2 separate regions of the Homo sapiens genome follow, and region 1 is linked to region 2. The links are contacts of gene promoters, found by promoter capture Hi-C in human tissues and cell types (Jung and others, 2019). All regions are on one chromosome and are shown on one strand. The core of a region is centred on a gene start or on the middle of the fragment in contact, and the rest is flanking DNA. Distances in the headings are between cores, read along the strand shown. Region 1 has its middle 20 kb from the start of CLIC6. Region 2 holds the start of KCNE1 (potassium voltage-gated channel subfamily E regulatory subunit 1).

Region 1 (2,948 bases), core at 179-2,678, 140 kb after region 2:
GGCAACACAGTGAGACCCCATTTCTACAAATAATAGAAAATAAAAAATTAGCCAAGAGTGGTGGCTTGTGCCTCTAGTCCCAGCTACTCGGGAGGCTAAGGCAGGAAGATTGCTTGAACCCAGGAGTGCAAGACTTTAGTGAGCCATGATTGCACCACTGTACCTCCAACCTGGTCAAGAGAGTGAGACCCTGTCTCTAAAAATGAAAGAAATTTAAAAGGTAAGAACCAAGGGAAGTCCTTGCCTGCCTCTCCAGGCCTCTCAGTTGCCTGCTGTCCCTGTTCACACTTGGCTCCATCCTCACTGAGACAACTTTTTTCCCTGGCATACTCCTTGCTCTGGGTTTTTCCCATGCCCTTTCCTTGCCTGGAATGCCATCTCCCACCTTTTTCCTGGCCAGCAAAACCTCTATTCATCCTTCAGGTGTACCTCAGAGCTGACCAACCCTCCCCACATCTACCTGGCCTGGCCCTGGGTCCCAGTTGGGCACTCCTCCTAAATACTCCTAGATATGCAGAACATTTACTTCCTCATGTTGTCATTGTTTGTCTAATTGTCTGAAGCCCCCCAGGAATGTGGCTGCACAAGGACATAGACTAGATGGCCTTGTGACCCCTGTGTCCCTGGCCCCAGCACAGTGGCTGGCAACCAGCAGGTCCCAGTGCATGACTGCTAAATGCATGCACACATGGCACAATGCTTGCAACCAGGCACATGCTTCCCCAGCCTTAGGAAGGGTTACGTTCATGGGGTTAGGTTCACAGACGCTGGAGCCAGGCTGTCTGGGTACACTCTGCACTGTGGGGCTCTACCACTTCCCGACGGTGTGCCCTTGGGCAAATTGCTTACCTTCTCTATCCCACATCTTTACATCGTTAGCATTTACGTCAAGGATTATATTAATCATATGAGCTAATGTATGTTATGTGTTTATAGTAGTGCCTGGCATATCGTCAGCACCATAAAAGAGTTTGCTGTTCTAGCTTCAAAACTCTTCATAGAACTTACACTCGGTAACAGGATAAGAATTTTGATTTCAGGAGGGATGGCAGGTGATGGGATGATGAAGGGAGGGAGACTGGGCAGATTGGAGGGAGACTGGGCAGATTGGGAGTTCCTCATGTGTAAGAGGAAACCAAGAGCCTGCAATTCTCAAGTATAACATTACGCCCTCAGAGAAGTGGGTGGGAAGATTCCAGAGACTTGCTCATTTTACAAACATTTATGGTAGATTGATTTGGGGTCCAAGAAAGGAGAATGAAACTCTCTTTTTTCCATCCTCTCCTTTCGGCCCTCTCTTCCCAGGACTCACATGAATGAACGTCTCTGGACACCTAATCACCATTTATCAATCTCACTTCTATGAGAAAAACACATTTCAAGTACCTACCCTCCAGCTTGTCAACAAATTCATTAAAAAAGAAGGGAACATCAGTTATATAAAGCCATGGTGTTTTTGCCTTACTATCAAGCTTTTGGATGAAATGGAAAAGTTAAATCCGCCCGGGAGGCATTTCTAACTCTCCACATTTAGCCACGGAATAGTTAGACTAATACCTGAATTCTCCATTTACATTTTCAGCTTGCATTCACAGATCTGGAGTCATAGAGAAATTACTGGTGTGGTGTCAAGTCTAAGTTTTAATGCCTTGAGGGGAAGCAACTTCACAATTCTGAACAAGGTTATCATGAGTGGAGGAGAAACATTCTCCTGGTTCTTGAGCCGGAGTTCATGAGCTCACACTTTGGCAGATCTCATCACTGATCATTTGAGCTCACACAGCTCCAAATACAATGGAAACCACTGGGTTATTTGTCAGCTGTTGAGTTCATTTGGTTGTTTAAACAATGCAATCATGCCAGTGGAGTGGGGGCAGGCAGACAGCAAACACTGGCTCCGTGCAAACCTGTGCTCCGTGCCCCGAACAAGGCAAGGGCAATGTTGGCCTGATGTAAGGGTTCTGCTGGGCACCTGCTGTCTCAGACACCTCGGTTGAACTCCTAGCTCTGCTGCTTTCCAGAGTTATTTGATGCTGCAGAACGTCAGTCTGCTTATCTGTAAAATGGGCATAGTGATTTTAATTACCTCACAGAGGCCTAAAAGGGAGGAGTGATATAATCCACAGGAAGAGCTCAGCATATTAAATAATCATGACCCACTAGCTATGACTGCTACTGTCTCTGGGGGTTCAAGAGCAGACAGTAGAATCATACCAGGGGAGAGACCTGACTAGTATGAGCCCCTTGTTGGGCTTTTGGACTTTGAAACAGGGTGAGGAATGAAGCAGAGAGAGGGATGATAAATTGCTTTGCACAATAAATGAAGAGGGATTTGGGGGTTGCAAGCGGGCAAGCTGAGAGAGGATTCGGGATGACATGGGCAGGGACCAGCCCCCAACCCGCTGCCCATCACTGGCCCCAAACCTTGAGTGAGCATCTCCCATAGCAAGGAGCTGTGGATCCTAGTTTTCCAGGATAGCCTCATGGTTTGCACCTGTGGCCCCAGAGTAATCACTTTCACTTTCAGAAGTGTTTGGGTTTGGCTATAAATTATGTCCTAACTATGTCCAACTGCCTTCTGGGAGGTGGTATGTTAGAAAAACCACAGAAAAGAGGCTGCATTCACCTGGGCTAAGACAAGGAGGAGCGAAGAGAGTAGCAGGTGGAGGTAGGGTTGAGATGGGGCAGATGCAGGTGGTTAGAGCAGAGGGAGCCAGGTGAGACTGAGAGAGAGCTAGAAGATGAGGAATACTCAGGTAACTAGCATATGGATTACATTTAGAGTATTTTAAGATACAATTCACATATATTGAAACACAAAAATTTTATAAGCCCCCAAAGTCCCCTGTCCCTCTTTGTTGGCAATCCTTGTTCCCCGCTTTCTACCCTTGGCCAACCAATGATGGTTTAGACTTGGAAATAGTGTCTTATAAGTGGAATCACATGGT
Region 2 (3,216 bases), core at 630-3,129:
CACCCGCTGAGCCCCTCACCGGGGCTCCGAAGGCCCTGGTCAGGTCACCTCTGGTCTCACTTTCCATTCTCCCCTCCTTCCTCCCCTCCAGCCACAGGGTCCTTCTCGATGTGCCCAGACATGGTGGGTGCACACTTGTCTGACAGCCTCTCTTCTTTTCCCTTTGCTTGGAATGCTCTCTTCCCAGTTACCAAAGATACTCAGGCTCTCTCCCCAATTTCCTTCAGGCCCTTGCTCCAAAAGCTCCTTCCGGGTGAAGCCTCCCCTCCCATCCTCCTTAAAGCTTCAGCCTCTACCTGGGACACTTCCTCCCCCACTGCCTGCCTCCTTGAAACTCTCCTTAGTCCTCTTGCAGCCCACACAGCTGAACACAGGCAGGAGGGGGCGCTGCTGCCCTGGCTGGTGTGCAGCCACCAGAGGCTGAAGCTCACTGACGTCTGTCTGGGGCCCAGGATCACCTTCCTTGATTCCAGCTCTCTCAGGCTGTCAGGACCTGGCGCTGGGAGGCACTAGGCCATGCCCTGGCCTGAGGCCTTCTCTCTCCCTCTTTGCCCTGTGTCTCTGCAGGGAAGCCCGGCCCTGCCCCTGGGAGGGTGGGGGCAGACGTGTGGAGAGTGGGTGTACAAGGCCAGGGTTTGCCAGGCCCAGGACAGCCTGGCACCTGTCAATGGATGAGCGCCTCTCCCTTAGCCTGATGTCAGGGTGGGCATGAGGGTGGGAGCAGAGGGTGCCTAACTGAGGAAAGGGTCTGTGCAACCCCCTTCTCCTACCAGTTCTCGTTTCTGAAGTCTCCTCAAGCACACTGCGGTGTCCACACCATTGGCAGCAGGCTCCTTCTCTTCAGGTGGTCTTAGGAACTTCTCAGAACTTTTTGAGTTATCCTTCTGGTCTCTTCCTCCTGAGCACGGTTCTCCTGGTTGAGCTCCAGGCCATGCCATTCAACGCCCTCCAGGACAGGCCGAAGGGCTTGTCTGTTTGGTGGTTGCTAAGGTTTGAAAAAAGCCAGCTGGAAACTTAATCCCCAAAGCAACAGTGTTGGGAGGTGGGACCTAATGGGAGGTGTTTAGTCATGAGGGCTCCACCCTTATGAATGGATTCTCTCTCTCTTGTTCTCTCTCTCTCTCTTCCCGCCCCGCCCACCCCTCCTTCCCCAACCTTGTGATACCTTCCACCATGTCATGGCAAGAAGGCCCTTGCCAGATGTGGCCCCTCCATCCTGGGTTCCCAGTCTCCAGAACCATGAGCCAAATGCATTTCTGTCTGTTACAAATTATGTACGGTGTGGTTTTCTGTGATGAACACAGTGCTGTACCAGGGCCCTCTTGCCAAGACAGCCAGCTTATAGGAGCCTGCATGTGAGGCCCGGACGTCCTACAGAGCAGCAGTTAGAGGTCTGGCCTTCTGGATAGGCACTGCCCTGCCCTGCACACAGGACCTTGGTGGGGCATGATGGGGCTCTTCACCACGCTGCCCTCATTTTAGGAGGTGGGCAACCCTTTCTCCCCCTTCTCCATGTGCTTCTGCAGTTGGAAGAAGTGAGGGGGGTTCAGACACACTTAAGCTGAGCTTAGAGCAAAGCATGTCCCTCAAGGTGACCTTGCCGCATGGCCTGAACCTAGAATTCCCCTGACCAGGGTGGACAGCCATCACCATGGGCCTTTCTGCCTGGCCTAGTATGGCTCTCCTTCGAACTCACCTAGACCCTTGCATCAAAGGACTCGGGGACTCTGCTGCAGTCATCCTAGCACGGTCGAGAGGAGTAGGAAGGTGCCCAGCGGCTCAGCCTTTAAGGAGGTCTATTGGTCACCATTGCTTCTGCCTTCTTGAGAACCATCACCCTCGGAGGATCCGGTAGTGTATCCCAGTCAAGTGTCAAATGCGTTGTTCCCTGGAGAGGAAGGCTTATTTCCAGAAAGTACTCTGACGTTTTGTAATTTGTGATTTCTATCACTGGCTCAGTGGCCTACCCACTGCTCAGCTCATGTGGCATGACCAGGCTGGGGCGTCGGGTCATCTTGTTCTCTGGGTGTGTGGCAACACTGGTTTATGGCGTAATTTCCTTCCTGAGAAGAAATTCAGTAATTTCTAATATTCAGGGCTTTAGGTAGAGGCCTGAAAATCACTCTCCATGCCTCTTTCAGTATTTTATATATAGTTGTCTCTTGGTATCCATGGGGTTTGGTTCCAGAATCCCCTGCAGATACCAAAATTTGCGAATGTTCAAGTCCTTTATATATAGTGGCATAGTATTTGCATATAACCTATGCATATCAGCCAATCATAGATGGTGATTTAAATCATCTCTTGATTACTTCTAACACCTAATACTATGTAAATGCTTTGTAAGTAGTTGTTACCTGGCATTTTTTTATTTGTTTTATTTTTGTTGTTGTTTCATTAATTTTATTTTATTTTTGGAATATTTTCAGTCCATTGTTGGTTGAATCCACAGATGCAGAAGCCTTAGACACAGAGGGCCGACCACACCTATGTATGCTGTTCTTAAAGTAGCAACATATTTGTTCTGAACATAGAAGAAATTAGTCGTCTATTAGACTTTAAGGGAGTAAATATGGTCCAAGTTGATTTTTAAATTTAGCAAATAGTCATAGACATATCAGTGTCTTACAGAAAATATTTATTGGAATGCTCACTCTCTCATTTGGGATACTGCTTTGCCTTGCTGTGTCTTAAGAATGTCATCAGAGCATCACACACTTGAAAAACGTTTTTAAAAGGATATGATGATAATTAAGACCTTCTCCCCAACCCCTGCCCATTATCCAAGATCAATGTTTTTTTCCTTTATCCTGATTTTAAAATCAAGTACACTTTATTGAGGCATACTTTACATGAAGCAAAATGTACCCTTTCTAAATATGATAAGTTTGATGAGTTTTCAACAGATGTATACAGCTGTTACCATGACTGTGTCTTTACCCAGGTTCTTGCATTGCTCAATCCAGATACAGAATGTCTCCATCACCCTGACAAGTTCCTTTGTGCCGCACCCTCTAGCCAATCATCTGTTTTGAGGAGAGTTTTAAAACAAAGGTTTTTGTTCTTTTTCACTGATGACCATAACCTACCACAGACAGGGTCTCTCTCTCTCTCTCTCTCTCTTTTTCCCTGTTCTTGCGCCAGCTGCCTGACAATTTGTGGGATTAAAGCTCTAAGCTGCTTACTGGCTCTTCTGACTAGGGAGAGGGAGCAAGC

What was found. Contacts are between HindIII fragments. The study calls those that stand out against the background at their distance.
Region 1: a contact is called between a fragment that was not itself captured here and the fragment with the promoter of KCNE1 in region 2, in 3 of the 25 tissues and cell types used here (IMR-90 fibroblasts, lymphoblastoid cells and spleen).

Annotation. Positions count from the first base shown.
Region 1 is chr21:34,647,046-34,649,993 of GRCh38, forward strand. No RefSeq gene overlaps it. Among named protein-coding and RNA genes, the nearest start is that of CLIC6, 20 kb to the right of the region's middle. The HindIII fragment of the contact is 3,209 bases long and covers 1-2,948 here.
Region 2 is chr21:34,510,331-34,513,546 of GRCh38, forward strand. KCNE1 (potassium voltage-gated channel subfamily E regulatory subunit 1) reads right to left here and starts at 1,880. Exons shown (of 4, transcript NM_000219.6): 1 at 1,697-1,880; 2 at 771-985. The HindIII fragment of the contact is 8,709 bases long and covers 1-3,216 here.